Regions from separate parts of the Homo sapiens genome. Here regions 1, 2, 3, 5 and 6 are each linked to region 4. Evidence: promoter capture Hi-C in 16 types of primary human blood cells and fetal thymus (Javierre and others, 2016). All regions are on one chromosome and are shown on one strand. Each heading gives the region's core, a stretch centred on a gene start or on the middle of the fragment in contact. The rest is flanking DNA. Distances are from core to core; before and after follow the strand shown. Region 1 overlaps LMBR1 (limb development membrane protein 1). Region 2 overlaps RNF32-DT (RNF32 divergent transcript). Region 3 overlaps RNF32 (ring finger protein 32). Region 4 holds the start of SHH (sonic hedgehog signaling molecule). Region 5 overlaps LMBR1 (limb development membrane protein 1). Region 6 overlaps LMBR1 (limb development membrane protein 1).

Region 1 (4,580 bases), core at 1,522-4,021, 930 kb before region 4:
TATTTTAAGTTAAATACTTAGTACCTCTCCTTTTATATATGAAGGCTGTCTTATATATTAAGAAAGTTGTAAGGACAGCTTAGTTATTGAATAAATACTGGACTTTGGGAAATTCTGTTATCTTGGAAGCAAAATATTTTTAATACCACACTAGTTTTTCAGCTTAAGAATAAAGCTGGGAAAAGTTGCCTTCAGCTATTAGTTTTCCTGAATCCAAAGAGACGGGTGGGGCAGGATCAAAAATACTTACTTGATCAAAGTTATTGGCTCTGAAGTTATTCTTACCTATGTAAGAAAGATGAAAGGTGTTGTTTTTATTGCATGTTAGTTAACAGTGTAATTTTGAACTAATTGGTGTTGAACTGCCAATCACCTAAGGGGAATGCAAATAGATACTCTTACAATTTCCTTTGAGGTAGTGAAATCTTATGTTGGGGCTGGAAGAAAAACAGAATAATACCATTAAATTGACCTTAAATGAGCTGCTTTGTGGTTTTCTTGGAGAATCCCTTTTTATTTCTTGTGACTTGTCTAAACAGGTTTTGTCTACCAGTTTGACTTATTGACTAGACAATGCTGACACTGGACATTTTAGATTCATTTGGAAATAAAGTAATGATAATGCAGTTCCTCGGGATATTTTAAATTTTTGGTATAACTTAAATCCACATAATGCCTCAGTATTTGTTTGCAGTATGTCATAATTTCTTACGATAGTCATTGTTTCCTTCTGGTCATTTATAATGAAATATTTACTCAAAAAAGCTTACATTTCTCCCTTAGGTATTGCTCTATTATAATAAAGAGTGGTCTTGTCCTTGAATAATGTGTCATCTCAGATGAATCTAGTCATTTAATAAAAGTATGATTTATTTGAGGACAACAAGAATGTAGTTTTGATTTTTATATGCAAGTCAGTCAGTATTTATTAATTACCTATTGTGTGCCTAGTGTTATATCACCTGCAAATAGAAGCACAGCATTTCAGAAATGCCATTTTAGTTATTTTCCTTTGAAGAATCATACATTGAGTGGTCTAGACATTTGTATTGAGCTCTGTAAACATACCCACAAAGTAGGCATTTTTGTCTTTTCACTTAATTTCAAATTGGCATCAGGAATACTTTCTATTCTGATGTCCATTCTCTTTTGAAATTCTAAATACTCATGAGCTTATTTTTTCTACCCTTCAGCTGGTTACCAGAATAATAAATCTTTGCATGAATGGGGAATGAATGTAGTTTGGAATTGTATTTCCAGTCAATGAGATATACAAGTTAAATGAGCATTAATTACAGATACACAGTTTAATTGATAAAGAATGGAGATAAAAGTAAAATATATTTATTACTAAGACTATTATGTAGTTTAAACTTTGATTCAAAGACACCTGAAAACCTTACAGAGCTGTGCTGTCTTTCTGTAAATCACATTATATGGAAATACTCATTCGTTATGTAACTTAATTGCTTCCCCCTTTGCTGTGGCTGCCAGAAACTCAAAACTAACTTTGTAATCAAAGTTTAGTAGCTTGTGTCACATTACCTGAATATTTCTGTACTAGCTTTATCCCTCCTCTCATAAATATATCAATTATATATTAACAAGTAAAGTGATAAAACTCATGAACTCTGAAAACACTATAAAACGTTTCAGTGGATTTGAGATCTCAGGTTCTTTGAAAGAGAGGGTATTCGATTGCTGTCTCTTCAGTGATGGGCAGAAGTGAGCAAGGAGCTGCAAAGGGAATGGGATTTACTTCTCCTAGAAACCTGGGATAAGACTGGAATTTTGTGATTCCCCAAAGGGGCTTAGAAAAAGAGGCCTCTGAATTCCCTTAGTGAGATTGCATTTGCCCCTGTGTTGCAAAGGTTTGTCTGATCTTGCTGGCCTTGCGTTGTTGTTCTGAATCCTCCTTTCAGTCTCTCCCTTTGAGAAAGGACCACTCTTTGCACCTAGAGAGACCCAGCGAGGTTTCCTCCTCCTAAATCAGTTTTTCTGGCCAGTTGGTCCCTAGCCCCTAGGAACATAATTGAATTGCTGTACCTTTTAGCTGGTTTGTCACTGTTTGAGGGAGTGTCTGACCTGATTAGAGATGAAGGGAACAACAGAGGTGGATAGAGAAAAATTACCAGTTGTTTAAGGTTCAGTGAAGAAGACCAAGATAGATATCTAGAACAAGTGGTTCCCACTTGAGTTAACAATTAATGGGAGAGACAAATAAGAATTCATACCTAATCCTCAAAAGTAGTAAGAATGTCCAAGGAAATGTCATTAGAACAGAAAAAGACTGATGCTGAGAACTTGAAAAAAATAAAAAGCTTAATAGACAAACAAAAAAAGAAATAGTCTTTGTGGTAGTCAGAATAATGGTTTCCTAAAGATGTCCAAGTCCTAATCCCCAGACCTTGTGAATATGTTACCTTACATGGCAAAGGTGACTTTGCATATGGGATGAAGTAAAGGATCTTGAGATTATTCTGGATTATGTAGTGGGCCCACTGTACTCACAAGAGTTGGTATAAGTGAAGGCTGAGATGGTCAGAGAAGGAGACATTGGTAATGGAAGAAGAGGTCGGAGTGACTCAAGGAAGGGACCATGAGCCAAAGAATGCAGGTGGCCCTCAAGGGCTAGAAAAGACAAGGAAATGATTTCTCCCCTAGAGTCTCCAGAAGGATTATAGTCCTGCTAACACTTTGATTTTAGGACTTCTCACTTCCAGAGCTGTAAGACAATAAATTTATGTTGTTTTAAGCCAGAAACTTTATGATAATTTGTAGCAGCAGCAGCAGCAATAGCATACTAATATAGTCCTTCAAAAATTGAATTAATCATCTTGCAGAATCAAGGGGAAGAACTATTTTGTGTCACACACCAAAAGTACAAAAAGAAGGAAAGTATTAATGAAAAATAGACGTGAAGTGCAGAGCTAAGATACTGAATGTAAATAATAGGCATCTAAAAGGAGAGAAAAGAACAAGTAGGAAAAGTAGGTAAATAAAAAATAGAAGAAAATATCAATGAGCTTAAGAAAGACTTGAGTTCAGGTTAAAAGGCCACACACTCCTAGGCAAGATTATTCAATAGAAAATCAAAAAGATTTGGATTTAGTTTGTAAGATTCCTGAATTCCAAGAACAATGGAAAAAAAAAAAAGCCCTTACAAACTTTCACATAGAAAAATTCCAGACAAAGAAGAGAGAGATCAACATCAAGCTTCCCATTTGCAACCTGCTACTGGTTGCTGAATAGTACCCATAGTTGTAAGGGAGGAATAAAGACTGCAGTTGAAAACTCAGCTGAGTGTGGCGGCACGCACCTGTAGTCCCAGCTACTCGGGAGGTGGGAGTATACGCTCGAGCCCAGAAGTTCGAGTCCAGCCTGGGCAGTAATATAAAGTGAGACCCTGTCTCTTAAAAAAAAAATTCATATATTCCCAAAGATGTCATTCATCTGTTATGCATTCCCTCATTTGTTCGTTTTATATCTGTATATTGAGCACCTAATTTGTGCCAAGCACTATTCTAACTTCCATATTGAAAGAAACATTTGGTAACAGTCTTGAACTAAATATTGTTAAAACTGTCGCAGCAAGATCCAGGAGTTGGGGGCATGGGTGGGCAGCAGTGAGAGAATGATTAAAGCGTTGTGAGAGCTTCACTTTGGTGTGGGGTAAGTTACTCAGAAAAGCATCCCTGTAGGGCTAGGACTGTGTGATGCTGATATTATAATGAAAAGTATATCTAAGTATGAGTATTAAAAATGTGAAAGTAACCATTGAACTGCCAAATTAACATGGGCAAAAAGGATAAACTAAAGTTTCACTAGCTGGGAAAGAAGAAAATGAAGAAATAAAGAACAAATATAATGAGCAGAAATTACAGAGTTACATAAAAAGAGAAAGAGCACCAGTCTTCCTGTCAACTTGAGGATGGCAGTACTTTTAGTCCCTTGATGTCACTGTTGAGCTGCTGGAAAATCCTCTTTGAAGTTTGCTCTGTGTCTAAACTTCTCATTATATGAAATTATTTCCTCATTTTTAAGCTACTTTGAGTTTAGTTTTCTGATTCAGTATATAGTGTCCTAATAGATACACCCCCTTTTACGGATGAAAACACTGAGGTTCAGAGAGGCATAAACCTAAAAAGATGAGAAGTTGAGAGGAGAAAATCACAATAAAATTTTGGAATTTAGAAGACCTGAGAAAATTTAGCGGACTTAAGTAACCAGTTTCACAGACCCAAGGAAGCTAAATCGTAAGTCATTTGTGCTTGATTTATAAATTTATACCCCAGAATCCCCAAAAGTCCCAAAAAGTGGCACCACCAGACGAAGTAGAGTGAGCTACTTCATAAGAGAATTGATTGGAAATCCTGTTTATATAATGGTTTGATTGCCACATCTTTTCGCTCCATCCAAGGTACCAATTTTCTAAAGGTTTGTATCATGAAGGGATGTTGAATTTTATCAAATGCTTTTCAGTATCAAATGAAATGATCATATGGTTTTTGTCCTTCATTCCATTGATATGATGTATCACATTGGTTGATTTGAATATGTTGAACCACCCTTGCATCTCG
Region 2 (4,431 bases), core at 1,415-3,914, 680 kb before region 4:
ACTCTGTTTTAATTCTTTGTAAATAGAGCTCCCCCTCCCCGCTACCGTGGCTTATTCCTGCAGTTCCATTCACTACCACGTTCAGCCTAATCACATCTCCTGGAAATAATATGAGAAAGTTATGCTGTTTTACTCCATCAGATTTAATAAGTTTGGATGGTTTCCAAGTACTAGGCATTAATCACACTTAAACCTGGGCCTTGATAGTTCATCCACCCGGAGTATTCATGTCAGAGACATAAAACAATCTGCTTTAATGCTCAGAGTCCTCTTGAAAACTGAGCACTTGCCTCGTGTTAATAAAACTTGCTTTCTACAGTGGGGCTGGGAGAGGACAGGGCATGGGGATTTTTATATCATGTAAAGCATATCATGGGTGCATTTTCCTGCCCTTGTAGTTTCTAAACCCAGTTTTAAAGCTTTGCAGAATTATATGAAAAAAATTAGGCAACAAGGTAAGCCTGGAATAAGGAAGAATTAGTCAAACCTTGGCAGCACCCAGAGTTTGGTTTACATCAAAGCGGTGGAGAGAACGTTGTCCTTCCTACCTGACAGCTCTCCTCAGCTCAGGGTTTCCATTCTGGGATGACAGTGAAATTGGACACAACAATTGTCCATTTTCCAGTGGGTGGGTGTGATGTGCCCTTTCTGTACAACTCTCCAGGACAGGAGGTGGGGGCTGCGGGGAGACAGACGGATGGAAACTGACACACACAATGCTTTCTTCATCTCCCATCTACATTTGGTCTGTTCCTTAGGTTGGTTTGTGGGTTCCTTTGACATGGGGTTCCTTTTACTGCCTTCCCTCCATCCCCGTGAAGAGAATGCTTTCTAAAACACTTCCCATTGTTTTGTTTTGAAATGAGCATCTTCATGTCGCAGCAGGATTATTTTAATGTTTAACCAGAGTGACAAAAGTTTTCACTTGTTAGTATTTAGCTAAAGATTCTACCGTGTCATGAAGATAAATCTGCTCAGGTGGACAAAGAGTACGTTGAGGACATCTGGGTGCCAGTGGGTGGTGTTTGTTGATGCTGGGGTACCTAATAAGTGCTTTTGATTCTGAGTCTATAGAACGTGGATGCTGCAGGCTGTGCCCACCTGGCTGTGAGACACAAACACCAGTTACACTGTGCACTTGGTCCTGAAAGCCTCTAGGACAGCAGTCCCCAACCTCTGTGGCACCAGAGACCAGTTTCGTGGAAGACAATTTTTCCATGGACAGGGAGTGGGGATAGTTTTGAGGTGATTCAAGCGCATTACATTTATTGTTCACTTTATTTCTATTATTATTATTATATTGTAATATAGAATGAAATAATTATAAAATCCATCATAATGTAGAATCAGTGGGAGTCCTGAGCTTGTTTTCCTGCAACTAGATGGTTTCATCTGGGGGTTATGAGAGACAGTGACAGATCATCAGGCATTACAGTAACATGATCCTCTCATGCACAGTTCACAGTAGGGTTTGTGCACCTATGGGAATCTAATACCATTGCTGATCTGACAGGAGGCGGAGCCCAGGCGGTAATGCGGGTTATGGGGAGCGGCTGTCAATACAGAGGAAGCTTTGCTCACTGGCCCACTGCTCACCTCCTGCTGTGTGGCCCAGCTCCTAACAGGCCATGGACAGGTATCGTGGGGGAGCTGGGCACCCCTGCTCTAGGAAATACAAGGTGTGGCCATCTCTGATACAGGATGGTGTACATGCTAGGTGTGGAGGTAGCACTTGTGTGTTTCACATCATGAAACACAGGGCAGTGGCTACCAGCTGCTAAGTGGGGTGGGAAGATGATGAATTTGAGATGTTCTGAGAGTGACAGGCTAGGCTCGGAGATGTCCAGCAGCTGGAAAGTCCGAAAGGGAGGGAGGCCGTTCCTCACCCTGGTCTGATTTCAAAGTCCCTACTCCTTCCACTCTTTTCACAATTTCCCGATCCTCGCATGGGCCCTGGGCCTGGCCTTCCATTGGCTCTCACATGCCGCTGCCACTGGAGGATTTTCTGGGAGGGTGCGTGTCTGCATTTTATTTTGTTGGATGAAGATTACACGTGCAAGGTATTCCAGCCTTAATCTGGGAATGCAATACATGACCTGGGAATGCAATAAACACACAAACACAACAAATGAAACAAACCTTAACATGACCTGGGCATTTCTATTCACATCGTGGTTGACTAACATGAGGCATGTTAGATGGCTGAGTAATTGTTTTTGTTCTTCTTTATAATCCATGCTGAAGAAGAAGTTTGTCTTTAGAAAATGTGGCTCAGATAGAGATGGAATTCATTTGCTTCAATTGTGTGAACATCTGAAATCGGCACCTGTCTAGGTATTAATGTTCCGAGTTTAGAAGGTGTTTAGCTGGCTGTGTGTTTGTATACACGTAAACCCGGTATTGATTTGAAATACACGTGCACATCAGCAAGTCGCGGTGGAGTTTGGTGGCACACCTTGCAATGCTGATGGGATGCTGGGAGAGAGGGCTTATGCCTCCCAGGGAGCTTGCAATTTGCATGGTAGTTGTAATCCTTCCTGAAAAATGTCTTGATTCACGTGACATCCGACTGGGCAATACCATGCATTGTGTGATTCATCCCTTAGACATTGATTTAAGAAATATTTATTGAATGTCTGTGATGAGCTGGCCACCCTCCAGATGTTAGAAACAGAGGAATGAGCAAAACAGAGCAAGTCCCTGCTTTCATGGGAAGGAGGAAGGCAGAAAATACTAATAAAATAGATAAATAATATAAGTTAGGACTGACAAGTGCTGTGAAGAATGAGTGTAGGGTAGGGAGAGAGGGGAAACAGGTAGAAGGTTGCCATCCACTGTGGTCAGGGAGGGCCCACTGGTACAGGACGCTCCAGCAGAGACCCTCACTTGAGTGAGTGAGGGAGCTTTGGAGGTAGCCTAAGGAAAGAACATTCTAGAAGGAATAATGAGTGCAAAGCCTCTGAAGTAAGAGTGTGCCTGGTGTGTTCAGGAAACATCTGTCGTTCTCCTTCAGTATACATTATTGTCCATATAGATTTTTTTAAATGTAACCGGAATGTTCAAGTGTAAACAAATTACCTTCCCAGGCAGATTTATAACTATTTGAGGGCTGGAACTTTTATAACTATTTGAGGGCTGGAACTACATATTGTAAATGTATCTTGTACTTTTTAAATGTCCAGTCCAATGTTGAACCCATAATAGGTAATCATCAAATACATGTTAAATTTGATGGAATCAGTGATTTAAAATATGAAATTATTATTAACTGTAATGTAGTGAATATGGAGTTGACATGGGGCATTTTCCCAGGAAAAGAAAAAAATTTAGCCATCTCAACCTTTCTTTTCAGTTGCCCCTAATGTTAAGATTTTATATAGTCTCCTCAGGCTCAAGTTAATCATCGAATACTGTCCCAGGAAATGGCCCAAACTGGATATTTGATATAATTTTTTCTGATTATAGAATATCTGTAAGATTACAGTTCTGTCTTCAGAGATTCTACAGTTTAGCAGATCAAATGGACAGTGGTAACATCCTAATTATAGTGCAGTGACACACAATATGCATTTTGGAAATTAATTTTGACATCACTGTAATTTTTATTATCATTTCACTATATATGAACATACACACCAATACATCACATTGTACATCTTAGATATGTACAGTTTTTATTTGTGAAGCATACCTCACTAATTGTACATCTTAGATGTGTACAGTTTTTATTTGTGAAGCATACCTCACTAAAGCTTGGGGGGCGGTGGGAAAGGCATGTTTTCCTTTGGAGCAGAGCTGTGCCCTGGAAAGGAGTGCATGTGAAGATGGAAAGGAAGGAAAAGCTCTTCGTGCACGTGGGGATTTTGGGCTTAGAGGGAATCTGCGGTAAATCACGGGGAAGCCAGGAATCCTCATGAGAGTACTCAGCCCTGGCTGATGTGGAAGCCGTGTGAGTGCAAGCTTGCGTTTCTCTGTATCATGTAGTGCTGTGTAAGGAAGAACATTCCAGAAGGGTCGGGGGCACAAAGGCCCTGAGCTGGATGGTTCTTGGAACAATAGGGAATGTCAAGGCCACCCTCTTGTATTCCTGCAGTCCCTGTTGTCCGTACAAACCCCTGTTCATCAAAGCCAAGCCTCTGGGCCCCTTAGGCAATGGTGTCTCAGGTGGGAATCGCATTGTCCAGGCTGTGGGCATTTGCTATCTAACCACACCATGTCTTCCTCAATACCACAGCCCCTGCACCCATCCGCACACATGCACCCACTTGACACACTGCTGGGGGTCCGCCCTGAAGGTGCTCTCCGGCGGGGGCTTCTGGGATGAGCAGTCCCACTGGCCCGGCTCTCACGGAGCCTGCGTCCTGCTGGGGACACAAAGCCCAGGCAAGTGAACAGTGGGTTGGCAGTGGGGACAGTGAGCAGGGCTGTGAA
Region 3 (4,145 bases), core at 740-3,239, 860 kb before region 4:
GGACTGCTGTAGCTGACCAGGAAGACACAATGAGGGCAGCAGACAGGGCTCTCCCTGTCCGCTGAGTCCTCCCATGAACTCATGTTTCCAAAGGCCCCACTCTTTCTTGGTCAGTGTCCCAGTTTTTATAGAAGAGACCTGATGAGGCTGTGGAGTAATTGTATAAAAGCTTGCACTGTTTTCCTGACTTGACCTGACAATGTGGCGTTATCTTCAAATTGTCCAGAGAAGTAGCTACTTCATTCAGGTCCTTTTTAGCGTTCTGTGGTTGCAACTTGGTCTCGCAAGCTTTCGATGGGCGCGCCATTCCATGGCCACTTTTCAGTAAGAAAATTGCCTGATTTTCTGTTAACTGTCACAGGCTGCCCTGGACCATTCCTCAGAACTCATGGGATTTTCGCGACCCTCATCCTCAGTGAAGTTAGATGACCATTCCTGCCTTTCATCCCACCGATTTTCCTAAGTATCTGTTGCCTGCAACTAACACTAGTTCCTGTGTCAGTAAAGTACTGCACTTGGTTGCAAAGAATAGAGATGGACTCTGCCAACATAGGCACGGAAGGTTTACGGGGTGGATGGCATGGCTCACAGATGTGATGAGAAAGCCCCGGAAGAAGTGTTGGGCACAGCCTTAGGCACAACCTTTCCTGGGCTCTTCCCATCACTGAATGATCCATGTATCTCCGGGACTCTCCTTCTAGATCCAAAGTTTAGGGCGGCGGAATCGGACTGCTCTGGCCTTTGACACGTGCCTGTGCTTTGCCTGTCAACGCTATGGGGAGAGAGATGTCAGCTTACAGAAAATTGAGGTTCTGTGATTCAGTTTCCCTCTGCTCTCTTAGAATAAAAGTGCTTACTCATTGTTTAAAGCATTCTCCAAATTAGTCTGCAAATTTTTTGATAGTATACATCCTTAAAAAATGAGCACATCCCAATATATGCATATTTATTCATAAATGATACATACATATGTAGCTATATAATGTGTACATCACAAAACATAGGAGAGTATTTTTTCTAAGGGATGAGATAAGAATAAATAGAAATTTTGGCATTTCTTCTCACATTAGATGCTGGGTTATTCTGAGCCCATGCCATGTGCACACCCACTTGGCCTCTTCCTCTTAGGCCTACACCCTGCCCTTTCCTTGCCCCTTGTAGTTACTGTGGCTGGAGTGATGAGCGCCACTCCCAAGCATGGCCTGGAACAATGTCCTCCTGCCCCTCCACCAGCAGTGACAGGATTCACTGGGGACTCGGGGGCAAAGGAGACTGTGTCACAAGACAAAAGGAGCCAGGGTCACACATGGTGTACCCTCGCCCTGCCTCACCCATGGCTGACATGGGTTGGACACCTCAGAAATCATGTGTCTTCAGCGAGCCACTGAGAGTTGGGGCTTTATCTGTTACTCGGCTAGGGGTAACCTAACCGATGAGACTGTAACTGGTTACTGTAAATAACCAAGCTCCCAGTAATAGTAAACCAGTGACAAAAACAATTCTTATCCAAAAAGGTTCACTTTTTTTTAAAATGTGTGAACTAAAACAGTCTTTATTGCTCTAAGACATTAAAATTTGCACTTTTTTGATGTTGAATACCACTGAATATTTTATTTTTATATTTTATTACACAGAAATACAGCAATTATTACAAAACGAGTATTAGGAATGGCAAAGGCTTTAGGACAGACTATTAGCGGAAAACATTTGGAACTTAAGGAGTGTTTTACATTTGGAACTTACTTTAAGGAGTGTCGTTCAGACACTAGCTATATCTTAACCTCAATTTTTAGAAGTAAGCAAGCTCTCATTTTTTGCTATTCATATTTGAAGTGATTAAACTCATAAATTTGAAATTTACTTTTTAGAGACCAAAGATTAAAATTAGGTGGGATGTCAGCTTTTAAAATATACTAAGATTTCCTACAACTACCAATAGCTTATTTCCCTGGGAAACAGATTACATTGTAGTACTTAACCCAGAACTCATGCAGTTCATCCAAAATGATGGTAAACTTTTTTCCTCAGAATTACCTAACTTTCCTTGACTATGAATTCAACATTCAAGAATCTTCTTCTGGTAGCAGGAGCGGCAGAGAGGACAGGCATGGAAAGGAGGCCTGTCTCCCACGGAGAACTCCTCTAGTGCCAGCAGACACGCATGGTGGAACACATGTGAGCAGGACAGGAGGGCCATCTCTCTGGAACGCCTGCCTGCACCCACGCGCTGACCGCCAGCAGCGGAGAGAGGGGCCAGGCAGATGGAGCACTCGTGGGTCTCCCGGCGCAGAGCCTGCGGCACACAGGACGGGAAGAGGCCACGCGGGTTAGTTTCATCACAGCAGAAAGTTACTTAAACTGAAATGCGAACCATGTGCCCCGAGACATGGGTCTTCGAAACATGCGGAAGTTTCATTCTGTGTTAAAATCACATGCATTTTATTTATATATATACATATATATATACACACACATATACTCTGTTACTCCTGGGAACTGTGGAAAGGGTTAGTAACCCACCTGTGATAAGCAACATCCAACAGGAACTTCCAGAATTTCAAACTGAAGGGACCTTTGCCGTCACCCTAAAGCCCATGAGGAAAGTCCTACCACAGGTGCAGGGGCAGCTAGGGCAGCGGTTACCCCGGGACTGACACTCCTAGGCTTCCCAAAGTGAGTCCTCGACCTCCCCCGACATGCCACCCCCACAGCCTCCACGGCTGCACCCCGGGCCTGACACTCCTAGGCTCCCCAAAGTGAGTCCTCGACCTCCCCCCACATGCCACTCCCCACAGCCTCTGCAGCTGCAGCTGAGTCTGCTGGTTGCCAGGCTGCCAGCCAAACCTACCTGCACTTGGATTTTCTCCCATTCCTCTTCTGTGATCTCATGGCCACATTTTTCTTCCAACTGCTGAAGAACACTTCGATTTATGGCCAAGCACTGATCGATTTCTGCAAAGAGCTCTTCAATGTTGGTGTTGTATGAGCACAGGATGCGGTGGCTGATTTCTGTGAACTGAGGAGGAGGCGGGGGCGGGTAAGCTCACACCTGAGCTCGGTGGAGGTTGCAGGGAAGCGCTCTCGAGCCTGACCATCTATTTTGGTAACCTTCCTCGTCTCTGTCTTCGAATAATACTTTTTAGGGAAATAGATATATGTCTATTTTACTTAACTATAAATCCAGATAATCTGGACAGATGACCACAAGAACCCCTATCTGATGGAGTCCAGAACACACTACCCCAAAATACGGCACCTTGGCATACTGAATATTTTAAGGAAAAAACATTCCTTCCCAAAGGAATTTGAGAAATGACAGCTGCAGGAGGGACCGTCTGACCTCTCCCCACCCCTAAAGTGGGTCACAGGACCCTCCTGTGAGAGGCACCCTCGTCTCCAAAGACGGAGGGAGCCGGGAGGAGACAGCACACAGGCCTTGCCGTGGTTCCCACCGACCACCCTCAGCTCACCCCTTGTCCTGTCATGCTTCCCCACGACCTCTGTGTCCTCATCCAACCTAGCATAGAAAGCGCTCAGGCGTTACTGTCTCTTCGGGTCTCCGCTGCCCCTTCGGGTCGCCGCTGCCTCTTCGGGTCTGCACTATCTCTTCCGGTCTGCGCTGCCTTAGGAAGGCTTCCATACCACATGGGACTTACTAAGTAAATCCGTGTAATTTTCTCGTTAAGCTTAACTTACAGGGCTCCAGCTGAAGAATTTAGGAGGGTAGGGGAAAAGGGTATATTGTTTCCCTCCCCTGCTGTTTTCTTGGTTGTGAGCTTTGACCATTAGCAGGAACACATTTGAAATTAAAAGTTGAGAGAAAAGTTCGAATTTCGCAGGATCAGCTCTGTCCCATAGAAACATACTGTGAGCTACGTATGTAATTTTAAAATTTCTGGCAGTCACATTAAGTTTTTTAAAAGGTGAAATTAATTTTAATATTGTATCTGACCCAACAGATCCAAAATATTATCACTTCAACGTTTATTAATTGAATACAGTACTTTGTTTTTTTTGGTATTTTTGTTTGGTTTGGTGGAGACAGCATCTCGCTCTGTCACCCAAACTGGAGTGCTTGGGGCCATCAATGCTCACTCAGCCTCGGCCTCCCGGGCTCAAGCCATCCTACACTAGAAAGGTCTGAG
Region 4 (4,284 bases), core at 1,719-4,218:
ATCTAGCGGCAGGGGCCGGAAGGAGGGGCAGGGGCAGTGCCCAGGAGGGAGCCTGGGGGCTGGGGCAGAAGAGGAGGCAGCTTCTGTCCTCAGCAGGGATGCTGGGCAAGGGGTGGAGGTGGGGGAGGGTGGGGGAGGGAAAGCTGGAGGAAGGAGCGAGGGAGGGATGCGCGTGACCCCAAGGAAGAGAGGCAGAGCCCAGGTAGATGAATAACGGAGCCCCAGCATGTCCGGATGTCTGGCCTTGTCAGGGAGGCTGGTGTTTGGAGCCTCTGCTGGTGCGGGGAGGGGGCCAAATGGTCTGGGGGGGGGGGGGAAGGCAAAGAGATAGAGCCACCTGGCCTCTGGAGGGGAAGGCAGTGCTGGGCCGTGGGGAGCAGGTGGGATGGAAGGACAGGGAGTGAAGGGCGGGAGGGCAGAGCAGCAGCTTCTCTGGGGGGCTCAGTCAGCAGCCTGGTCTATAACTGGGATTGCTTTCTGCGCCGAGCTCCCCTCAACCCATGCAGGGGGCAGGCCCTCTGAACTTAGGCGTGGGGGCAGGCTTTCTGGCCCATCATTATTTCACTCTGGAGGATCGGCCAGTCTACAAGGGGGGCGGCCCCTGAGGTGCTCTCCAGGGTGTCTAGGGCTGTCTGGAGATGGAGGGGAGGGAGGGGGCCTCACGCCATCCCTTAGGGCAGGGAGGTTTCAGGAAATGCCCTGAGTCACCCAAGCTCAATGCCAAGCCACGTCTTCTCCCTGCGCTCTGCTAAGAGGGAGCTGACCGCACCTGGGGGCACCCCACGTCCAGCTGTGCCCACAAGGAACTCTGTGCAGCTCAGGCTTTTGCTTCCAAAAGCACACCCCACCCACCCTGCCCCTTGCAGAGGTGAGCTGTGTGCACATGCCACCTCCCGGCAGGGCTGCACACCCAATCTCTCAGGCCCCAGGGTGGCAACCCGTGTGGGGGGCCTTCTGCCTGCATTTGGAAGGGAGTAAGTAGCGGGGAAAGACAGGGGGAGGAGGAGGGACTGGGGCAAGAGGAGATGCCAAGGGTGGAAGGCAGGGCAGTCAAAAGTTTGCAAATGTCCCACTGGGCCAGGTCGCTGGTCCAGCCCAGGCACCACCCAGTGATGTGACATCCACATGCTGTGCAGGTAGACACATCAAACAGGCCGGCCTCCTCTGGAGAGAACACGGGTCCTGTTTTGTGTCTGTTTTTACTGGGAACGGGACAGGCAGCGCAGACACACCGCCTGGAGAATCCCTGGGCTCAGCTGAGCTCCAGCTCCGCTCAGTGGAGGCTGCCGGGGCCTGGTCAAGTGGACGCTGCTCCCCCACGGTGCTCTCCTCCAGGGATCACGATTCGTCACAAACCATGGAAAGGAACAAGAAAGAGAGGCGGGAAGGGGAGCCCGGGTCAACCTCCCCAAAGGCACCCAGGCCACCGAGTCTTGTTAACGCTCAGCCTCTCATGCCCAAGACAGATGTGTCCTAAGATGCTCCTCTCCTTCTCTCCCCCACCACACACACAAAAAGTTGATCTGCAAAGGGAACTTCTGGAAACTTCCATCGTTTGAGGGCTGAGCTTCACAGGGGTCCTCTCCCCCTCCACTCCAAGGGCCCGGGGTCAAGGGAGAGTGTTTAACTTCACAGGGCCACATTTGCAGCATCTGATGACTCCTCAGGGTCAGGATTTCCCCTCCACGTAAATAACCCTCACTCTCTAATCCTATGCTAGAGGAATCATTGCACATGAGTGGGATGGCGATTGAGAAGGGGAAGGGCATGATCTGTTTTTTTTTTTTTAAAAAAAAAAAGAAAAGCAGGGTTGAGAGGGAGCTTCAAATTTTATTTTCCTGGTTTACTTAGGACTTTTGAGTTTTTTTCCTTTTTCTGCAAAAAGTGAGGTGATTATAGACTCAAAGATTGCCACCTCCTGGGCACTGTGCCCTCTTTCTAGGAAGCCCCTCGTTAACCAGAACACTGTTCCCCCAGGGCCCCTGACCCCTTGGGCTGCAGCCCCTAGGACTGGTGGCTCCTGTGCCTGAAGACTGCTGGCCTGCTGAGCCCCCACACAAGGCCAGCTTTGCAAGGAGCCTGAATTCCACATTCAGCTCACCCCTGGCTCTGCACTTTGCTCTGATCGATCGTGGGGGTTGTGTGAGCACAGCTTCGCCCACTCGCCTGCCCCCCCCCCAACACCCTGCAATGGCCTCCACACACCCAGCGCACACACTGGCCCCCACTCTCTCCCCTGTGCTGGGGTGCAGCCCCCAGACCTGCTTTGCCCATCCACCCTGACGCCCGCAGTTCACTCTGTAACTGCCCTTGAGCACGCCTCCATCCCATTTGCAGAGCTCTACAAAAAAAAAAATGTATTAATTGAAGCACAATAAAAGAGCAGTATTTTTACATTTTTCTAAGGCACTTAAAGCATTTCAAATACCAGTGCTTTAAGTTATGGTCACTCATAATTATCCTCGGTCCACAGAGGCTGAGTCTTCAGGAGGGGCTCAGTCCTCTTTCTTCAAAATGCAGGGAGAGCCAGCCTGCACTATAAAGTCCCTGGGGAAGAAAAATTAAATAACAGCTGGGCAGCTGTGCCCCTCAAATGTGTGAGCGACTCTGTGCTTGATGACTGAAGCTTGCGGGGGTTTAAACTGTCCTTTAAAAACTTAAGTTGGTTTTAACTGAAGCACCTACCATTCCAGGGAAAGTCAGGGGGAAACGCAAGGATGTACACAAAGCCGGGAGTAACTGCTGTTACCACAAGACATGCGCTCCTCCCTCCCGCCCACCTTTATCTTAGGAAAGATTTTTTTTTTTTTAACTCGAATCCTTCAGGTGAAAATAAAGCAACAGCAGCAACAGAAAAAAAAAACGTAGTCTTCTTCAGGGTTAACATCAGAAGACAAGCTTGTGCGGCTTTGGCCAATCAGATGCGCCCCTGGCAGCTATAATATAGTGCTAAAGGCAGCCTCTCTCACAAGCTCTCCAGGCTTGCTACCATTTAAAATCAGACTCTTTTTGTCTTTTGATTGCTGTCTCGCGACCCAACTCCGATGTGTTCCGTTATCAGCGGCCGGCAGCCTGCCATTCCAGCCCCTGTCTGGGTGGGGAGCGGTGGAGAGTCCCCCGCAGCCGCGGCGGGCAAGGTTATATAGGAAGAGAAAGAGCGAGGCAGCCAGCGAGGGAGAGAGCGAGCGGGCGAGCCGGAGCGAGGAAGGGAAAGCGCAAGAGAGAGCGCACACGCACACACCCGCCGCGCGCACTCGCGCACGGACCCGCACGGGGACAGCTCGGAAGTCATCAGTTCCATGGGCGAGATGCTGCTGCTGGCGAGATGTCTGCTGCTAGTCCTCGTCTCCTCGCTGCTGGTATGCTCGGGACTGGCGTGCGGACCGGGCAGGGGGTTCGGGAAGAGGAGGCACCCCAAAAAGCTGACCCCTTTAGCCTACAAGCAGTTTATCCCCAATGTGGCCGAGAAGACCCTAGGCGCCAGCGGAAGGTATGAAGGGAAGATCTCCAGAAACTCCGAGCGATTTAAGGAACTCACCCCCAATTACAACCCCGACATCATATTTAAGGATGAAGAAAACACCGGAGCGGACAGGCTGATGACTCAGGTAGGAACCCAGCGCCGGGGCGTGGAATGTGTGGCTTTCCAGGGGGTTACGAGAAGCCGAACACTTCCAGACTTAACTCTGTTTGCTCTTCGGGCAGATAGGAAGGTGATTTCACCCGCTCCTTCCCCACCCACCTGCCCGCCCCCCATCTCTTCCTCTTCCTGGAGGAGAATGGAGGTCAAGGGTCCAGCTGGAGAAGTTTAGGGTGTGGTGGGGGTGAGGACGGTAACAGACGTGGTTCATTATGGCCCTGATTTGATGAGTCTTGCTACAATGGCCTTCCCCATCCTACCTCTGCCCTGGCTTGTAACTTGGGGAGACCTTCACTTTGGGGGCGTCGGCCCTTTCCAAGTCAGGAGTGGAAATGGAAGGAGAGGCTGGGAATCCCCCTCCCACAAACATGAAGTGGTCTCCTGGTACTGTACGAACGAACGAACGTAGCCTTGGGCATTGGAGCTCAGAGCCCCCACGTTTCCCGTTGCCTCTGTGGTTTTCTTTCCCACCACTACCCCCACCCTGCACCTCCCCACCAAAGAATTCTCAACTGGAAAAGCCAGGAGGCGGTTCTGACAAAAGGCAGGGGCTCCAGGGGAGACTCCGCCCGTCCCTGGGTGGCTGGCTGTATCGCAGAGCTGGCTTTGCGATTGCGTGTCCGCAATTGTGCCCATCAGAGTGT
Region 5 (4,294 bases), core at 1,795-4,294, 980 kb before region 4:
AAAAGATGGGCCTCTGGCCTTCAAGGGTCGGACAGTGGGAGAAATGACAGATGTAAACAAATAAGATGCAGTTTGAAGCCCTTTTATATAATGAAGTCCTATGGGAAACCCTGAAAGGAAAGGATATCTTGATTTTCCTGGGGAATCTGAGCAGGCTTCACAGGGGAAGTCAATCTGGACTTGGGCTGGGACTTGAAGGATGAGCAGGGGTTTGCTAGAGTGTGGCATTCCAGGCTTGAGCAAAGGCCTAGAGCTCTGACAGTATTGAGGGAATGGCCGGTACTTAGATACTGGAGAATGGTGAGAGATGAGGGTGCACAAGCCGCTTGCCAGGGTCGAATTCTGGAGGCCTGGAGTCCTCCATCTGGTCATTTGAGTTTTATGTTGTAGGCAACAGAGAAGCCAGAATAGGATTTTTGAAAATAATTTTTTTTCATCTACCACTTGAGTATATTTAGAGATAAATATGCATTTTAGACTTTGTGCAGGTCACAAAGGAAAGGAGTACAAAGGAGTACATGCCCCACACAGTGCAGAACACTGATCTGTAGACACGGCACCGAATCAGTCCTGCACCTGACTCTGTGACATTGCCTGCCGACGTTTGCTTTCAATAAGCAAAGTTCTTCCCTCTTCCTGACACTACCTCTTGTGTAATAGTACCACATACAAAAAACAAATGATAAAGCTTGGTGTGAACTATATTTTCATATTTGACATTATAAACAGTATCTACCTAATTTATACTTTTTATAACAATCTAGTTGAATAGATTGTTATTTACAATAACAGGGTGTAATATGGACAAACTCTTTGCCTCCAAGTTATTTTCTTCCCTTCTTGTGAATTAACCAACTAGGAAAGGGACTTGGCTAAATCTGTTTGAAGAATTAGCAACAATCTCCAGAATTAAAAAAGAAAAAAATGACAAAAAATCCCAGTGACATGTCATTTTTCTCCTGTTCCCCCTTACAGACTTAAGGTCAAAGGGAGAATCAGCTGAGGAGGGATCATAGAAGTTAATTAGAGATATTTCACACATACGATTGTACAGCACTTACTTCCTCTATTTTAAAAAAATTTTTAGTCTTTTTATACATGATTAATATTCTTTTCTTAGCACATCTTTGACCATGTTAGTTGCCTAAAAATCACTCGAGGGTCACCAGCTGTGTTTCTTGACCTCAAATGGGACTGAAATATTGAATGACTGTAGGATACAGGCAACTATGAATCCAATTAATTCCCAAACACAGCAGAAGGTGGAGCCCCGGACGACTGCCATTTGTCCAACTTGGGAAGTTGTAATAGGTGCTGCAGAAAACCAAATTAAAGAATTTGGTTGTTAATGCCGTTAAAGGAAGGAGGGAGATGGGATTCTAGCTTGAAGGTAGGGAAAGAGGCCAGCGGAAGATGGTGAAGCTGCAACCGTGAGAAAATTTGGCATCAGTCAGACTGCCTGGGAGGTGACTTCATCTAAACCGCGGGGTTGCTTTCTATAAAATGGGTGTAATAATGATCTTTACTTTATTGTATCATTTTGGTGATTAAATGAGATGTGATTATTCATGTAATGCACATAGCCCAGGACTTCATTTAGTAAATTAGCTATTATTAAATTACCTTTATCTTCGAGGTAGTCTTTAAATGCATTTGACTAATAAGTATTCTATAAAATATCACTAATCACTAATAAGTTTTCTAGAATACTTATTATCACTAAATATTCTATAAAATATGAGCCTCAGAAAGCAAGCAACTGAATACAGTACAGTCATCTTTTAATTCCTCACAGATTATTATCTCAGGCGGTTTTAAAATATGTTTCCCATTTTGCAATGGCATGTACTGAAGTAGAATAACTCAGCTTGAGCATTACAGCTAGCATACTTTGAAACAAACTTGTTTGAAGATAAGGTGTGTTCTAGATCCTAGTAGAAATGTTTAGAAAGTTTTAAAATTAAGCTAATCAAGACATGTTATTTTAAAATATTCATATTTTTCGGTTTTAAAATCAGTCACATGAAAGTTGGAAAGGTTACTAATATTGTGTCGTTAAGTCTAAATGTGTTAAGCATACATTTGAGCCCTTTCATGTTGTATATTTCTGTAGTCTAGAATCATTTGTTAACTACCTGTGTAAGTTCTAAATAACATTTTTAAAGATACATGGTTCTTTACACAGTGCTTATTAGAATTAACTTCGTTGCTTTATTGAAATTAATGTTATGATTGATCACAGTCATTAGAATGTTTAACATATTTGGCGAATAAGTACATATATTTATGTATATTCCTTTAAAGCTGCTTGCTCATCGATTACATTTGACACATATAGTTGCTGAAGTGATACTGAAGAGAGGCTAGAAACATTTCTAATGGGTAGATTCAGCGCACTAATTTGAGCAATGACAAACTTGTAATATGGTTAAGTAAAATTTCCTTTTTTTTTTTTTTTCCTGTGGCCACCCTCCTGGTGCTGTTTTACTGTGTCTAAGTCTGGTGTATCCCTAAATGGCATATGGCCCCACTCTACTCCCATGGATTCCCCTGGGCAATCGATGTTCAAACAGCTTCTTGCATATTGTGCCGAGATGCGGAAATTGGCCACTGGCCATGGGCGGATGCAGAGCTTGAATTGAAAATCAAATTAAGCAGAATTCTCTACTTAGTTTTTAATTAAACCACTATGTTAATTCAAACAGGACATATTAGGCCTGGGGGGTTGACTATGTCCTTTTAAGGGCCTTCAATAGCTTTGCTTCTCTCTTCTTACCGTGGCAGCGGTGTGTGTTTCTATTTTATTAGGACCATCTCCTTGCTATTCCCTTACTTTATAATTCTGAAGTGTAAGAGCATAGAAATGGTTTTGATAAAGTAAAAGTTTTTTTTTAGTAAGCAGCTAACTTTTATCTTGGAATTTAGACTTATTATTAGCAGTTAAATGTTTACCAAATTTAGATTATTTTGCTGTCACCTATGTGTATTGAGCTTTAGGTATGTTCATAGGTATTTGAAAGTGACTCCGTTTACATCTTAATTTTTCAACTGATAAAAAGGTTCCATTTGGTGATTTTTGTTTTGTTTTGCAGTAAGCCTGCTTTTTCTGCAGTATGTGGCTCTTAGGGCTCAGGGAACATCTTAAGGCAGCCATCACTGCTGTGCTTATCATACCTCAGATTGGCTGTATGATTTATCTCCCTCCTCCACTCCAGAAAAGACCTCCAGGTTATCTGGATTAATATCAGAGATGTTTTCTGATTTTGTAAGGAACTCTGGAGGTATAACCTCTGGCCAGTGTTTAAATGGTAGTTAGGCATATATTTGTTTTATATTATATCTTAACATCTTATTTTGAATAAAAATGTCAGGAGGAAAAAAAATTCAGCAACTTAATGAAAGTGGGAGAAAATATCTCCATATGATTGTTATGTAAAATTTATGACAGATTAATTCATAAACCCAAGATTTTTCTGGGAGTAAATTTCTATTGTACTTAACTTTAATGCCTATGTTTGATTTGAAGTCATAGCATAAAAGGTAACATAAGCAACATCCTGACCAATTATCCAAACCATCCAGACATCCCTGAATGGCCAGAGCGTAGCACACGGTCTGTAGGATTAAGAGGTTAACTCCTATAACTTCAAACAAAGTGCCTGATAATAAAAGCAAAAAGTACAAAATTTTAGGTAACTTCCTTTCTTAATTAATTGGACTGACCAGGTGGAAGCGAAGAGTTCTGTGCTGGTGCTTGGAATGTCTATAAAGCTGAGCAACATGACAGCACAATAGAGGAGGAACAAAGATTTTTTTAATATGTTTCTATCCTGTGTCACAGTTTGAAATTGTCCTGGTTTATGTCCCTTTTGGCAAACTTACATAAAAGTGACCTTGTACTGTATTTTATGACCAGATGACTTTTTCCCCCCAGTGGCTAATTTGTATCAGGCCTCCATCTTAAAGAGACACAGAGTGAGTAGGAAGTCCAGCCTCTGTCTCCACGAGCTTTCATTGCATTCTTTCATTATTTTTGCTCGTTTTTTGCCACTGATGATCCATAAATTGTTGGAAATGAGTGATTAAGGAAGTGCTGCTTAGTGTTAGTGGCACATGCGCATATTTGGCCTGGTTCTGGTGGGTGAGAGGAAATCACAGACAAAAGGGAAGCCCCTGCTGGGAACCCTGCAAGGAAATTTAACTTGGGTCATGTTTTGATCTTAGTGTTTATTACAGAAAATGAAGCCATATCTCACTAACTATTGTTACGTGTTAATTTGATTTTCCCAACACC
Region 6 (4,544 bases), core at 1,057-3,556, 1.0 Mb before region 4:
GGTTTGTGGTGCTTTGTTTCCTCAGTTCCAGAAAACCAGTACACCATGCAACATACTCACAGAAGGCTGGGGATTCAGGCATGGGGACCTTGTCCACTATGCCTACCTTGAGTCTGCAACTGAGATGTCAGAATTAGTAGACAAATACATGAAAACAATTCTTTTTTTTTTTTGAGACGGAGTCTGACTCTGTCGCCCAGGCTGGAGTGCAGTGGTGCAATCTTGGCTCACTGCAACCTCCGCCTCCCGGGTTTAGGTGATTCTTCTGCCTCAGCCTCCCGAGTAGCTGGACTACAGGCGTGTGCCACCATGCCCAGCTAATTTTTGTATTTTTAGTAGAGACGGGGTTTCACCATGTTGGCCAGGATGGTTTTGATCTCTTGACCTCGTGATCCACCTGCCTCGGCCTCCCAAAGTGCTGGGATTACAGGCGTGAGCCACCGCGCCTGGCCAGGAAAACAATTCTTATAACTATTCCATATGTTCCAGAAACTTAGAGGAAATGTTGAACATACTGAGATGTAAAAGATGTAAAAAAACAAAATTCTAGAGATGAAAACTATAGCATGTGATGTGAAAGTATATAAAACAGTAGATTAATAGCAGATTAGACATTGCAGAAGAGATTAATGAATTTGAGGACATAGCAATAGAAAACTATTCAAAAGTGGGGCTGGGCGCTGTGGCTCATGCCTGTAATCCTGGCACTTTGGGAGGCTGAGGTGGGTGGATCACCTGAGGTCGGGAGTTCAAGACCAGCCTGGCCAACTTGGTGAAACCTCGTCTCTACTAAAAATACAAAAATTAGCCAGGCATGGTGGTGCATGCCTGTAGACTCAGCTACTTGGGAGGCTGAGGGAGGAGAATCGCTTGAACCCGGGAGAGGTGGAGGTTGTAGTGAGCCAAGATTGCGCCACTGTACTCCAGCCTGGGTGACAGAGCAACACTCCATGTAAAAAAACAAAAAACAAAAAAATCAAAAAACTATGTGAAAGTGAAACACAGAGGGAAAAATGGCTGAAAAGTGACAATAGTGCTGTAGTTTGGATGTTTATTCCCCCATACCTCATGTTGAAATTTGACTCCCAGGGCCAGGCATGGTGGCTCACACCTGTAATCCCAGCACTTTGGGAAGCCTGGGTGGGTGGATCACTTGAGGTCAGGAGTTTGAGACCAGCCTGGCCAACATGATGAAACACCATTTTTACTAAAAATACAAAAATTAGCCAGGCGTGGTGGTGCATGCCTGTAATCCCAGCTACTCGGGAGGCTGAGGCAGGAGAATCACTTCAACCTGGGAGGCAGAGGCTGCAGTGAGCTGAAATTGTGCCACTGCACTCCAGCCTGGAGGACAGAGCGAGACACTATCTCAAAAAAAGAGAGAGAAATTTGATTCCTAGTGTTGGAGGTGGATCTAGTGGGAGGTGTTTGGGCCAGTGGGGCAGATCCCCCAAGAATAGATGAATTCCCTCCCGGGAGGTGGGTGAGTGAGTTCTTTATTCTCATAAGAGCTGGTTGTTAAAAAGAGCCTGGCACAACCCCCTCTCCATTGCTTCCTGTCTTCTCCTGTGATCTCTGCATATGCCAGCTCCCCTTCGCCTTTCGCCACGAATGGAAGCAGCTTGAGGCCCTCCTCACAGCAGCTGTTGGCACCAAGCTTCTTGTACAGCCTGTAGAACTGTGAGCCAAATAAATCTCTCTCTTTTTTTTTTAATAAATTACCCAGCCTCAGGTATTCCTTGATGGCAATGCAAAGTGGGCTAACACACAGGGTATCAGTGATGTAGTTGGTGTTTCTAAAGGAGGGGAGTTGAGAAAAATATTTGGAAACTTAATGGCAGAAACATTTCAAAATTGATGAGAACTATAAACCCACTGATTTTAGAAGCTTAACCAGTTCTATGTACAAGAAACATGAGGAAAACTGTACCAACGCATGTAATCTGATGGCTCAAAATCAGTGATAAAGAGAAAATCTTAAATGCATCTACAAAAAGAGACACGTTAAGTTCAGAGGAGCAATAATAAGAATCACAGCATGTTTCTGGTGGGAAACAATGCAAGCCAGATGACGTTGTGACAGTGTAGCAACAGTGTAGTCAGCCCTCTGGATCTGTGGATTCTAGATCTGTAGATTCAACCAACCACGGATCACAAATATTGGAAAAAAAGATGGTTGTGTTTATAGTGAGCATGTACAGAGTTTTTTCTTCTTATTCCCTAAACAATATAGTATAATTATTTACATAGATTTACACTGTATTAGGTATTGTAAGTAATCTATGGATGATTTAAAGTATATAGGAGGATATGCATAGGTTATATGCAAATACCATGCCATTTTACATAAGGGACTTGAGCATCTGTGGATTTTAGTATCTATGGGAGGTCTTGGAACCAATCCCCTACAGACACTGAGGGAGGATTGTACTAAAAGAAAAATCCCAGCCAGTCTAGTTTTATCCCCAGTGAAAATATTTTTCAAAACAAAGGCAAAATAGTGATAGTGTCAGATACACAAAAGATAAAAATTCATCATCAGCAGAGCTGTACATTAAAAAATGTTACAGGTTGTCCTTCATGTGGTAGGAGGTGGGTAGGAGATAGATATCTAGGAACCGTGAGCTAAACAAACCCGAGGGAATATATCTTAACTCATTTCCTAACTCTACAAAATGAAATGAAGAGCACTAGAAGCAGCAGTTTATATGTAGAGAAGCTTTTTAAAAATCCTGTGTTTAGAAAAGATAATTGGCTGTTTAAAAAGTAGTAACAATGTATTATGAATTTTATTATAGATGTACAAGTAAGTTATATGACAACGATAACACACAGGAGGAAAGCCACGGAAGCACACTGTTGTGAAGTTCTCATGCTCTACGTGAAGTGTTATCTTTTTTTTTCTAAGTGACAGCAAGTTTATTAAGAAAGTAAAGGAATAAAAGGAATGGCTATTTCATTGGCAGAGCAGCCAATAAAATCATCTGAAGGCAGATTGTGATGAGTTAAAGGCGTATATGATAAACCTGAAGACAAACCAGAAATAGCCCAACAGAGATATAGTGAATAAGTAAACAAAGGAAATAAACTAGAATCATAAAAAATACTTAATCTGTGGGAACATAGAAGAAGGGAAGCTAACACATGGGGCAAATAGAAAACAAAAAGCAAGTTGATAGATTTAAAGCTAACTATATCAATAATCACTTTAAATGTAATGTTCTAAACACTACAACTAAAAGGCAGAGATTATCAAATTGAATATAAAAGCAAGACTGAAGTATATCTGCTTGCAGGATACCCACTGTAAAGACAAAACTAGGTCAATGGCAGTAGGAGAAAAAAGATACACCATGCTAATTTTAAACAGAGCAAAGTTGGAGTGGCTATATGATTATCAGACAAGGGCAAAGAATATTACCAGTCATAAAGAAGATCATTTCATCATGTTGAAGTGGTTTGTTCACCCAAAGAGCCTAATGATACTTAGCATATATCTGCCTAATGACATATATTAAGTACATGAAGCAAAAACGGAAAGTGTAGTCAGAATCACAATTACATTCAGATATTTCAACACCCTTCTTTCAATAATTGATAGAACATATAGAAGAAAAAATCACGATATAGAAGATTTGAATAATACTATCAACTGACTTGACCTAATTAACATTTATAGAACATCCAAGAATAGAATACATATTCTTTTCCAGTACAATGTGGGCATTTACCAAGAGAGATCACATTCTTTGCCATAAAATAAGTCTCAATACATTTTAGGATTTTAAGTCATACAAGATACACTCTGTAAGGACAATGAAATTAAATAAGTGTCAGAAAACTTACCTAGAAACAATCTAGAAGATCCCTGAGTATTTGGTAATTGATAACATACTTTACAATAACTCACTGGTCAAAGAATAATCAAAAGGGAAATTTGAAAGTGCTTTGAACTGAATGAAATGAAAATAAAACATTTTAATATTTGCGGGATGTGTCTAAAAAGTTTTTAAAGGTCAATGTATAGCACGAAATACCTGTATTACAACAGAAAAAAGGCCTCAAATCAGTTTCTGCAGAGTCAACGAATAGATCCCAAAGAAGGGAAATCTTTCTTTAAAAATCTTGAGAGAGGAAATCAATGAAATAGAAAACAGGAAATCACCAAGAAGAACACTGAAATTGATAAACAATGCCAGAATGATCAGCAAAAAAGAAGAGACCAATTGCCAGTATTAGGAATGAGAGAGGTGACATCACTACATATTGAACAGTGATTAAAAGGATAATAATTGCATATTATGAACACCTTTATCCAACAAATTCAACAACTTAGAGAAATGGACAAATTTCCTTAACAGGCAAAAACTATTAAAGCCTTCTCAAATATTCTGGGAATGTTAGAAACATTCTCACAAATAAAGCTTTAGGCCAGGAGGATTTACTGTCAGTTCTATCATATAGTTAAGGAAGAAATAATAGCAGTTCTGCACAGATTCTTCTAGAAAATTGAAGATGTGGGAACATTTCCTAATTCACTGAGG

Evidence for each region. The method cuts DNA at HindIII sites, captures the fragments that hold promoters and counts their contacts. A CHiCAGO score of 5 or more calls a contact.
Region 1: a fragment that was not itself captured here is called in contact with the fragment with the promoter of SHH in region 4 in 1 of 17 cell types (endothelial precursors); the score reaches 6.9 in endothelial precursors.
Region 2: a contact is called between a fragment that was not itself captured here and the fragment with the promoter of SHH in region 4, in 1 of 17 cell types (endothelial precursors). The highest score is 5.2, in endothelial precursors.
Region 3: a contact is called between a fragment that was not itself captured here and the fragment with the promoter of SHH in region 4, in 1 of 17 cell types (endothelial precursors). The highest score is 5.8, in endothelial precursors.
Region 5: a contact is called between a fragment that was not itself captured here and the fragment with the promoter of SHH in region 4, in 2 of 17 cell types (naive B cells and naive CD8 T cells). The highest score is 5.4, in naive B cells.
Region 6: a contact is called between a fragment that was not itself captured here and the fragment with the promoter of SHH in region 4, in 13 of 17 cell types (M1 macrophages, megakaryocytes, naive B cells and 10 more). The highest score is 11.7, in M1 macrophages.

Annotation. Positions count from the first base shown.
Region 1 is chr7:156,742,920-156,747,499 of GRCh38, reverse strand. The region is part of intron 9 of LMBR1 (limb development membrane protein 1); the gene reads left to right. Among named protein-coding and RNA genes, the nearest start is that of RNF32-AS1, 85 kb to the right of the region's middle. The HindIII fragment of the contact is 895 bases long and covers 2,324-3,218 here.
Region 2 is chr7:156,492,286-156,496,716 of GRCh38, reverse strand. The region is part of intron 2 of RNF32-DT (RNF32 divergent transcript); the gene reads left to right. Among named protein-coding and RNA genes, the nearest start is that of LINC00244, 46 kb to the left of the region's middle. The HindIII fragment of the contact is 2,181 bases long and covers 1,574-3,754 here.
Region 3 is chr7:156,674,567-156,678,711 of GRCh38, reverse strand. RNF32 (ring finger protein 32) reads right to left here. Exons shown (of 9, transcript NM_030936.4): 8 at 2,849-3,016; 9 at 1,582-2,293. The coding sequence ends at 2,057. LMBR1 (limb development membrane protein 1) reads left to right here. Exons shown (of 17, transcript NM_022458.4): 17 at 1-921. Among named protein-coding and RNA genes, the nearest start is that of RNF32-AS1, 17 kb to the right of the region's middle. The HindIII fragment of the contact is 3,398 bases long and covers 291-3,688 here.
Region 4 is chr7:155,811,147-155,815,430 of GRCh38, reverse strand. It overlaps SHH (sonic hedgehog signaling molecule), which reads left to right and starts at 2,968. Exons shown (of 3, transcript NM_000193.4): 1 at 2,968-3,608. The coding sequence starts at 3,309. RefSeq lists an enhancer at 25-668. The HindIII fragment of the contact is 3,572 bases long and covers 2,901-4,284 here.
Region 5 is chr7:156,791,080-156,795,373 of GRCh38, reverse strand. All of the region lies in intron 5 of LMBR1 (limb development membrane protein 1), which reads left to right. Among named protein-coding and RNA genes, the nearest start is that of LMBR1, 100 kb to the left of the region's middle. RefSeq lists a cis regulatory region at 2,592 and enhancers at 3,499-4,286, 2,340-4,294, 2,295-4,294, 3,343-4,294. The HindIII fragment of the contact is 4,707 bases long and covers 691-4,294 here.
Region 6 is chr7:156,807,238-156,811,781 of GRCh38, reverse strand. All of the region lies in intron 4 of LMBR1 (limb development membrane protein 1), which reads left to right. Among named protein-coding and RNA genes, the nearest start is that of LMBR1, 84 kb to the left of the region's middle. The HindIII fragment of the contact is 831 bases long and covers 1,891-2,721 here.